Linked DNA regions of Homo sapiens: region 1 is linked to region 2. Evidence: promoter capture Hi-C in 16 types of primary human blood cells and fetal thymus (Javierre and others, 2016). All regions are on one chromosome and are shown on one strand. The core of a region is centred on a gene start or on the middle of the fragment in contact, and the rest is flanking DNA. Distances in the headings are between cores, read along the strand shown.

Region 1 (5,655 bases), core at 573-3,072, about 14 Mb before region 2:
CAGGTTGGTAATGTCAAAACAGGAAGGTTAAGAGATAACACATCAAACCACTTATCCAATTGAACACAAATGCATACAGAGATGTTACTGCTGCTAGGTATTTATTGGCTCCCACTAGTCCCTTCTAAAGAGAGAAATCAATGGCAGCCTCCAAATGTGAATGGTTACTGAGGAAGTTCATCCACAGATTAAGAACAAATATTATGTGTAGTCATACAAACAAGAAAAAAATGTTGGGAGGGTGGGACATTTAACGTCTCTATTAAGTATATCAAACTATGATAACCCCTGAGACCTAAAATATTCTCTCATTCCAAATTCCAAAAATTCTGCAAATGTGCATAATGGTTTAGTAATCAAATCTTGTCCTTCTCTTTATTCTAAAGGATGGGCAAGTAAACACTGTCATCACTACTTTAACGTGGAAACACTCGAGCACTTGATGAAACTGACTACCAACAGCAAGAAAAGTACAAGAAAGCAGTTTGAAATCGAATCATCCAAATAAATATCATATTATCTCAATTCAAGGTTAATGAGACCGGGGGAGGGGGTATGGGAGGAGTAAAAAGGGAGCTGCTTCATCCTTGACTGAAGATAGGTTTTGCCCTTTTCCATTGCCTGTTTATCAGGAGGTCTAATAATTTCAGATCCTGGTATTTCGAGGTTTCTTATTTTAAGGGCGAGGTGGAAAAGGGGTGTAAAATAAAACCAATACTCACTGCTAACTTTCATGCTGCCAAAAGCTGAAGGCTGCTGCACCGGCTTGCAGCTCTCCGCAAAGGAGGTGGTTCTGGGCCGCCCTGACATGATCACTCTCTTCGCGAATCACCTTTTCCTTCCTTCCTCCTTTTCTTCCTTTTGTCTTTATGTTGGGGTGTTAGGTTAACGATAAATGCAGCATTAAGTTCTCCCACAGAAGAAAAAGAAAAAGACTTCGTCCTCTTGGCTTTTCACTCCTTTTGTATACTATAAAAAACAAAACAAGCGATATATTTCTCCTTCAAGACAGATCGGCACGGATATTTAACATATAGATGATTTAGGACTTGGGAAAAAATACAATTCTTTCCCCTCCCTTTCCTGGGAGGAGAGAAAAGAGAGGGCAAATCCTAAAAAAATATGTATCACGTGAAACGGGGGCAAATACTTGATTGAAAATGAGTACTTCGAATATTATATTTTCCTCGGGGATTTTTTTTCCGAGTCAATGAAGAAGGGAAGCGGCGGAAGGATCACGAGTCTCACGCTTGAAGAGAAAGGGGGATGGGTAGGAGGGAGGGAGAGGGAGGGAGGGGGTGGCTCGGAGATGCGACGGGAAACGCTGCAGCTCCGGCAAGCCGCGGGATCCGGCGGGCTGACGGCAGGGGCCCGGCGAACTAGAGGGCGGCGGAGTCGCGAGTCAGTCAGAGGCGGGCGGTGGCGGTGGCGGCGGCTCCTCTCCTCATTGCGCCAGGAGCAGCTGCAGGCGGCGGCTGGATCCAGCGGCCATGGCGGTGGCGGAGGCAGCTCCCTTCAGACCCCAGGCAGCGGCTCCTCGACTGTTCCCCATTCGCCGGGGACATGGGAACCCGGCAACCGCTTCCGTCCCTCGGGGCCCCCTCCCCCGTCCGCGGCAACAGCTCGGCCGCCCTCCCGCCCCTCGGCTCTGCTCGGTGCCCGCTCAGGAAGTGTCCGCGCTTTGCCCCAGCCCAGAGCCCTGTCAGCGGCTGCGGGGCCGGCTCCTCCTCGCTTCCTTCCTTCCTTTGTCACTTGGCCCGGGCGGCGGCGGCGGCGGCGGCGGCACAAGCCCGCATTCGCCCGGGTCAGGAGCTGCTCTGTGTGAGGAGCGCTGTCTGCGCAGCCGCCTTGCACTTCCCCACTCCTCCTCCCCCCTCCTACTCGTCCTCCACCTCCTTCCTCCCCCACCCAGCCTTACACCGCCCAGCGCCCCGCCGCCCGCGTAACAGGCGTCTGGGAATCGCCGGCCGAGCCCCACGCTCGCCCGCTTCGGCTGGGAGCCGAAGCCCGAACGGAGCCAATCACGGACGTCGTTTGTTTGCGGCTCCTCCCGGAAAAAGCCGATCAGCCTGAGAAACCAATTAGAAAGTGACGCTGGGAAGCCACGCCCAAAGAGCGGAAAATGCCGAAGGTAGCCGAACGGAAAGGGTGAATTCGCCTTGTTCGGTGGCTGGCTGGAGGAGACATTCGACAATGGCAACAGTGGCCAATCAGAGTCGCCGGCCCTTACGAAGAGGCTTGAAGAGTTGAGGACGGTGAAACCCAGAGACGCTGGTGAAACTGCACGGCTGGGCGCCGCCGCCGCTTTGTGATTGGCTGGAAAACTCCGCTGGGAGCGTACCTCCTTCGGTGATTGGTGAAGAGAAGGGGGCTTCCGAGGACAGTCTGGCCAGTCAGGACTTCCCCTCCCTCTCCAAGGTGGGGAGAAGAAAGCGAAGGGAGGGCGTCTATAAAGCGCTGTCTCATTGGCCTGAAGCTTAGGCGCTGGAGTTGGGGCAAAAGGGAGAGGGAGGGAGCCCGAAACTCGCGGCGGCGGCCAATCGGCTCTCACTGCCGTCCAATCGCAAGACCTAGCTGCAGTGTGATTGGCCTTCGGCCCCGGTCCCAGGAGCGGGGAGATGCCTGACTCGGGTCGTGGCTGACGACCCGACGGTTCGCCTGCGGCCGCCTCCAACAACGGTGGAAACCGCACACAGGGACCGCGGGCCCTCGGTGCAGCAAATCGGAAAGTGCTGCGGTCGGCGGCCCTGGGCTCTGAGCGCTCAAGCGAGCAGAGGGGTGGAGGGGCTCTCCCCACCCACAGGAGGCTCTCGGCGGGGCGCAGCCAATTCTGCGCGCCCAAGGCTCCCCTCTGCCGTGGATCGCGTGTGCCGAGTGTTGGCCTCTTCCCCGAAAGGGCCAGACGGACCAAGGGGGCCTTCCCAGCCGGCTGCAAGCTCTCAGACGCTAAAATGGGAACAAAGCTTCCAGAAAGGCAGCGCCTTTGGGCGGCCGCGCCCCGCCCAGCCGCGGGGGCCATTGATACAGAGGCTTGCTGCGCTTGGTGTGCGCGGCCCGGCCGGGCCTCTGGAAACGCCCATGAGAAATGAGCTCATGCTGGATGCGCGCGCTCCTTGGGCGCAACTGCCCAGCGCAAAACGGGCCCCGAAAGCAGGTGAGGGGAAATGCCGTCAGGCCGGATATCCTGAAGCCTCCGAGGAAATGGGGGGGTCAGAGGAGCCCGTGGTAGCTTTGGATCTTTTGGAACTAGGGTGATCTATAAAAGTGCAGCTTGAGAAGATTTCATACATAAGACCAGCGTCCATTGTTCTACCATAGAACCAGTTCCTTTGGTCTGCTTTAGAACAGTGAGGTATGGCTACGTCAAGATAACAGAGAAAGTAGAACAGACAGTTGCCATCCTGATTGTAATCCAGTGGTGCCTGTAATTTCTACCTGCAGAGTCATCTCTTTCTGTTAAGATGCTGTCTCCAGAAAGCACATGTTAAAGGACCTATATTTGATCAGATTACCTGGCTCTTGCTTTGAAACACTGATGAAGGACTTGGGACAGAACAAAGTAAGCTTTGATGGAAGACAGGAAAGGTCTAGATAGTGTTTGCAGATTCAAATGGCTACAGAGGCCAGACAAGTAAAGCAAATGAGTGAGACTGGCCTTGTGTAAGACAATGGGGAATGATAGGGAAAATGGCAAATTGGAATATCCATGCCATAACTAAAAGGAACAGCTGCTCAACTCTAGCAGATTGTTGCCCTCAGGAATGTGGGTCCAGTGTTCTCAGATGTTCAATTTTTTTCCTCCCAAAAGAAACCCCAAAATTGGATTTTTGTGTGAAATCTCTGCATTTTTAAATGTTGGTAACCAAATTTTCAAACCCTGCAGGCCAACCTAAAAACATCCCTTGGCCAATGAGGCATTGGAAAAAGTGTTAATAATTGTTAGGGGCCCGATAGCAGTAGGAGGGTGAAAACAAAATGGTTTGGGACCTTAAATAATTGAAATGTATCTTTATTTATTTATTTATTTTTGAGACGGAGTTTCACTCTTGTTGCCCAGGCTGGAGTGCAGTGGCGCGATCTCGGCTCACCGCAACCTCCGCCTCCCCGATTCAAGTGATTCTCCTGCCTCAGCCTCCCAAGTAGTTGGGATCACAGGCATGTGCCACCATGCCAGCTACTTTTGTATTTTTAGTAGAGACGGGGTTTCTTCATGTTGGTCAGGCTGGTCTCGAACTCCCGACCTCAGGTGATCTGCCTGCCTCAGCCTCACAGAGTGTCAGGATTACAGGCGTAAGCCACCACACCGGGCCGGTTGAAATTTATCTTTAAAATAGTGCACCTTTAATCCTTTTTTTATTTCTGTGTGTATCTTATAATGTGCATATCATGTTAGCTCAAGATCAAGAGTTTATGGACAAGCCAGGAGTGGTGGCTTATGACTGTAATCCCAGCAATTTGGGAGGCCGAGGCAGGTGGATCGCCTGAGGTTAGGAGTTCAAGACTAGCCTGGTCATCATGGTGAAACCCCGTCTCTACTAAAACTTTAAAACTTAGCTGGGCGTGGTGGCGGGCGTCTATAATACCAGTTACTTGGGAGGCTGAGGCAGGATAATTGCTTGAACCCAGGAGGTGGAGGTTGCAGTGAGCTGAGATCGCACCATTGCACTCCAGCCAAGGCAACAAGAGCAAAACTCCGTCTCAAAAAAAAAAAAAAAAAAAAAGTTTATGAACCACTAGTTTAGACAAAGAATAGTTGTACAGTTGTACAGATGGATAAGGAAGGAAAGAACATTCCAGGCAAAGAGAAAAGGTTATGCAATGGCTGAAATGTTTAACAAGGTATTTGGAGACCTTGAGATAGTTTGAAATTATGTAATGTCTAAGATGTGGGCCAAGAGAAAATAAAGGAAAATATCACAGGATAATAGAGGAGTAAAGTAAACTATGCTGTATTAACTCCATATTAGGCAGCCAGTAAAAATAAATACAACCACCAAAAGTAACTCAGAAATATGTTTAGGAAACAATACTAATTGAAAAATATAGAACTTCAGGTTGTATATCTACCATATTTCCAATCTGTAAAATATAAGTACATTTGGATCAAGATTGGAAAGGAAGACAAATTAGAATAACTCGTCAATAACATATTTAAATATAAATGAAAATATTTAAATGTCTTTGCTTAGTATTTTTATAATAAATTTCTATTTTTTTACTTTTATTTATCTTTTAATCTCACTGTTATCCAGGATGGAGTGCAGTAGCACAGTCATAGCTCACTATGGCCTTGAACTTCTGGGCTCAAGCAGTCCTCCCACCTCAGCCTCCTAAGTAGCTGGGATTACAGGTGTAAGCCACTGTACCCCACCTCTGTGTTTGATTTTAAGGGGAATTGGCCCAAAAAATAACATTTATATTATTTCTTCACTATGATTCACATGTCCCTCAGAAGCCTCTAATTACAATGGAATTCTTAAAAAAAATTCACATTTCTCAGCAAAGCTTTCCAACGAAAATTTTTATGATAATCCTTTGTCATATAAGTTAAAATAGTAAAACTAGACAATAGTGAGTAAGTATTATATTTGAGACACCTGCTAGGCATCTGATATAAGGTGGATGAGAGGATCAGTGTCCTTTGGGAGTTTACCC
Region 2 (4,926 bases), core at 727-3,226:
TGTTATCTCAGTATGTTCATGAGCTCCTGTGCCTAAGAACGCTGAGGTTTGGGCCAAGGCAGGTGGAAGTTTTTGTAAAAATGGCTCACAGGGCCGGGCGCGGTGGCTCGCGCCTGTAATCCAGCACTTTGGGAGACCGAGGTGGGCGGATCACGAGGTCAGGAGATCAACACCATCCTGGCTAACAGGGTGAAACCTCGTCTCTACTAAAAATACAAAAAATTAGCCGAGCATGGTGGCAGGCGCCTGTAGTCCCAGCTACTCGGGAGGCTGAGGCAGGAGAATGGCGTGAACCTGGGAGGCGGAGCTTGCAGTGAGCCGAGATAGCGCCACGCGCCACTGCACTCCAGCCTGGGCGACAGAGCAAGATTCCGTCTCGGAAAAAAAAAAACAAAAAAAACCAAAAAGGCTCACAGCTGTCCCCCATAGGATAACTGCAAGATATCCCTAACACCTTGGCAAAAATTATACACAGATTGGTGTGGGAAAGGGTTTACACCCCCATGACAAGGATCTCGGCAAAAGTTAAGCAAAATGCGCCCTGCTACTTCTGTCACCGGTGAGCCAGGTGAGGGCTTAATTAATCCAGTACTCAATAATTAACCGAGTACTACCCAGTGGATAACTCAAAGCAAGACGAAGTTTTGGTTATACTTTTGAAGTCCCTGTCTTACAAGTGCTCCCCACTTTCCTGCTGCTACTCCTTTGTCCTTGCTGCTCTGTCTCCTGGGATACCCTTCTCACTTTCCTCAGCTGATCCAAACCTGACTTTCGGAGGCCCACGTAGATTTTCCACCTTTGTAAAGTTTTCTCAAATCACTCGAGCTTCAGTAGGCCTTCTATCCTTGAACTCTTGCTTCTTGTCCTAACTTAATCTACTAAACAAGCTAGGTCAGCTTTGTGGTCAATTGCTCAGGTATTATTGCCTCCAACTGTTACGTGTACATTTTGTACCCATGATTCCTTAGTAGATCTTTCCACATTTGGTCTCAATCTTTTTCACCTGTCCCTTCTCCAAACACCTCCAACCCTGTCACATTTTCCAGCCTTGACAGTTAAAACCCCCTTTTCCACATCACTAATGCCACTCTTCCTTTCAAGATAAACGCAGGCGTCAGCTCTTGAAGGTCAACATCCCATTTCCGGGATTAGGCGCGAAGGTGCCTTCCCTCATAAGGGGCTGGAAGGATGGGAAGCATCAAGATAATCAATGCCCAGGGCACACTGATTATCTTGTGTATTAAAGCCACCGTCCCAAGTACTCGTCACCCAGTACGACCACTGTTTCCTGAACAAACTTTTCTTACTCACGTGACAGTCCCGATGCCTGCAATGCTCTTTGTTTCTTCCTTTTTATTCCAGTGAACCCACAGTCAGTCTAAAAATCTTAGGTCCCAGGTCGCTTCCTATAGGAGGCCGCCTCCAAACCCCAGGCTGAGTGCGGTCCCGGTACCCACCCCTCCAGGGGTCTCACAGTTCCCTAAGCACAGAGCATGGCACCAACTGGGGAGTCTGTCAAACAGCCCAGATGAATGTCTTTCCAAACACGCGGTGCCTGCGTTTCCAGGGACAGGGACACGTCTTATCAATTTCTATATATTACAGCTTTGTAAACATAATATTTATAAAATCAAAGCGGGAAAGCCTTGTTCCTTGCTAGAAATGAGCCTCGCAGGCCACCACCATCCGCACCGTACGACAGGCCGTCCCTCAGCTGCGGCTTCCTGCCTCAGGCAGGATGTACCAAACGTGGAAGCGGAGACGGGGAGGTCTGGGGGTGCCACGCAAGTCCCTTTCCTCCCGACACGAGTGCAGTAAAGAAAAACGGTTATGAGCGTAAAGTGACAGCCTCGGCCGATGGGAATAGGGGGAAGTCCGACACTGAGCAACGAACGCATTCCCGCGCCTCCAAAACCTAGGCCGGGGGCGCTGGAAACCCTTACCGGCACCCGGCCACCGCGGCAGACGCTTGCTCCTGCCACGCCCCCCCCCCCTCCCCCGCATCACGTGTCTGCACTCGCTTTCCTCGGATTCCCGGATGTGGGTGAGTTCATTTGCTCGCGTGCAGGGGAAGTCTGGAGAAGGCATTGTTTCAATTATTAAAAGTGTGGGGGCAGTGGGCGGAACAAACGCGCCGACTACAGAGGCTGGACGTAAGCTTAGCGGTGGCGCGCGTGCGCAGCGCCGGCCCGAGGTAACGGCGGGAAGGCTCAGGGGCGTGCTTGCGGCAACCCTGTAACCGCCGGTGCGCAAGTTGGAGGGGCAAGGGGCTGCCGTGTCCTGGTCTGGAGGCGGCCCAGGCTGCCTTGGTGATTCTGGCTTCGCGGCCTCATGGCTTGCGGCCGGTTTGCGCAACGGCCTGCGAACCACCAGGCGCGTCCCCGCCGGCTTGGGTCCGCCCCGAAGCCCAGTCCCTCGGCCTGGCCCGCTATGCCCTGCACACTGGCGGAGTCTGGCGTGGCGCAGCCCGGCGTGGGGTTCGGCCCCGCCAGGTGGTCAGCCCTTCCTCGGAGTCCAGGTGGCTGGGGGCGCTTCGGAGAGTGGCCAGGTGGGCGAGCGAGCTGCGCCCAGTACTCACCTTCCCCGGCGGACCCACCTTCCTTTTCAGCGGAGAGACCCCAGTGCGGCCTCCCTGCCAGGGCTGCTGTCTAGCTAGCGCTGTTGGGACTACTTCATTCACGGCACAAGGGGACCCGCTCATTTAGTGTGGCATGTTAAGGTTGGCAGCTTTTAAAATAGTGAGTTGGTTTAAACGGTTATGTTAGTACAAGAGGTACGGAAATGTGGCATAAATCGTGGACTGAAATTGGAGAACCCTGAACTAACGGCTCCATGCACACAAATGAGGGATAGAAAGAAATAAGGACGGTTTCTTAGGAACACTTTAATCATGGAGATACTTGAAGACAGTACATTTAGGCTTATAATGTGGTTTTTCTTACGTCCCTTACGACATCAGGAGAGTAAAGATGAGTATGATGTCAGAGACAGGTCGTCTTTTACAGTTTCAGCACCGTACGCTGATATGCACAGAGTAGTTTTCCCTGAGCCTTATGTCTGGTTAAACTTATTAAAAGAATTTATTATTTTAATAAAGCAGTATTGTAGGGTAGATGCCCTGTATTTATACAGTTCCTCAAGTGCTTGCATTTATTTTTTAGATACGAGGAAATCATAAGGATCGTTGATTAGATTTCTGTTAGCTGTAGCTTAATGATAAAGTGTATATATTTTCTTATTTGGCATGCAGTACCATTTTTAGATTGATTTTTATTTTGAGTTTGCTTTTTGACTGTGGCATTATCAGTGATCAGGGTAGTAAAAAGCTCTGAAACTAAATTAGAGTAGAGATTTATAAACAGGCACACTGCCTTTTAAAATGTATGTAGATGCAAATCTAAAAGTTGTTTGTAAAAATTGTGTATGTTGATTGTACTGATGCCATTTCCTCTCGTTAAAATGGTGGAAGACCTTTGCTTAGTCCTTTCTGTTCTAATTTATGTTGTGCTGGCAGATGGTGACAGCATCAGTAGTCCACTCTGTCATTGCTTCCTGCTTTCAAAAAATGTCAACTTGACTTGAAATTCAGCTAAAGCCAACATTGACAGAAGGTTTCAGGAACTGAATCTCCGATCTTTATGTTATTTTAGTCCGCCTCCCCGCCCCCATCAGGAGCTAGGTTTTTCAGTTTTACAGAGCCACAGTACTGTCATTACACATACACAAATTAATAAAAATTCTCTAATGTCAATATCCAGTCAGATAACGATTTCTTCAACTGTCTCTTAAATGTCTTTTTACAATTAGCTTGTTTGAACCAAAATCCCACAGGGATCTGCCTATTGTGTTTGGGTGATGCACATTTGACATCTTTTAATCTATATTTGTTCCCTCATAGTTATAGCTATGGGATTAGCCCCTATTTTTCCTTACAGTTCTAAATTTAGCAGATTGCATCGCACAGTATCCTTTAACATGTATCTCTGTTGCCTTTGTGTCCTCTAAACCAGGGGCCCCCAAACCCGGGGCCGCAGAGCAGTACCAGTCCGTGGCCTGTTAGGAACCAGGCTACAGAGCAGGAGGTGAGTGACAGGCTAGTGAGCATTACCTACCACCTGAGCTCTGCCTCCTGTCAGATCAGCCGTGAGGTTAGATTCTCCTAGGGGCACGAACCCTATTGTAAACTGCGCATGCAAGGAATCTAGGTTGCACACTTATAAGAATCTGACTAATGCCTGATGATCTGAGGTGGAATAGTTTCATCCTGAAACCATGCCCCTAACCCTGTCCATGTGTATTATTCATATTACTGAAGAAGTGGTTGGCCGGGCGCGGTGACTCACGCCTGTAATCCCAGCACTTTGGGAGGCCGAGGTGGGCATGAGGTCAGGAGTTTGAGACCAGTGTGGCCAACATAGTGAAACCCCGTCTCTACTGAAAATGCAATAAAATTAGCCGAGTGTGGTGGTGTGCGCCTGTAATCCCAGCTACTCGGGAGGCTGAGGCAGGAGAATCACGTGAATCCGGGAGGCGGAGGTTGCAGTGAGCCGAGATCACACCATTGCTCTCCAGACCAGGCAAGAGTGCAAGACTCGGTCTCAAAAAACAAAAAAAAGTGGTTTGGCCATTCCTCCCCCAAAACATTTCATATGAATTTTAACAAAAAGATATTTACAAAATGTGTTATTTCCGCCCTGTCGGTGTTGAGAAATTGTCTTCCATGAAACAGGTCCCTGGTGCCAAAAAGGTTGGGGACCACTGCTCTAAACCAGTAGTTAGATGTAGAATTGCACTGTCCGGTATTGTAGCCACCAGCCAGCAGTGGCTAGTTAATTAAAGTGAAATAAAATTAAAAATTCAGTTCCTAGGCTGGGCGCGGTGGCTCACGCCTGTAATCCCAGCACTTTGGGAGGCTGAGGTGGGTGG

The links. Contacts are between HindIII fragments. The CHiCAGO score rates a contact against its expected background, and 5 or more counts as called.
Region 1: the fragment with the promoter of GSK3B here is called in contact with the fragment with the promoter of ANAPC13 in region 2 in 1 of 17 cell types (total B cells); the score reaches 5.7 in total B cells.

What each region holds. Positions count from the first base shown.
Region 1 is chr3:120,092,625-120,098,279 of GRCh38, forward strand. It overlaps GSK3B (glycogen synthase kinase 3 beta), which reads right to left and starts at 1,823. Exons shown (of 11, transcript NM_001146156.2): 1 at 723-1,823. The coding sequence starts at 810. It overlaps GSK3B-DT (GSK3B divergent transcript), which reads left to right and starts at 2,480. Exons shown (of 3, transcript NR_186629.1): 1 at 2,480-3,154. RefSeq lists enhancers at 2,002-2,411, 2,038-2,332, 2,612-2,931. The HindIII fragment of the contact is 3,897 bases long and covers 1-2,474 here.
Region 2 is chr3:134,484,009-134,488,934 of GRCh38, forward strand. ANAPC13 (anaphase promoting complex subunit 13) reads right to left here and starts at 1,977. Exons shown (of 3, transcript NM_015391.4): 1 at 1,944-1,977. It overlaps CEP63 (centrosomal protein 63), which reads left to right and starts at 2,049. Exons shown (of 15, transcript NM_001353108.3): 1 at 2,049-2,194. RefSeq lists enhancers at 1,632-1,751, 1,782-1,881, 1,962-2,071, 2,163-2,981. The HindIII fragment of the contact is 3,493 bases long and covers 1-2,156 here.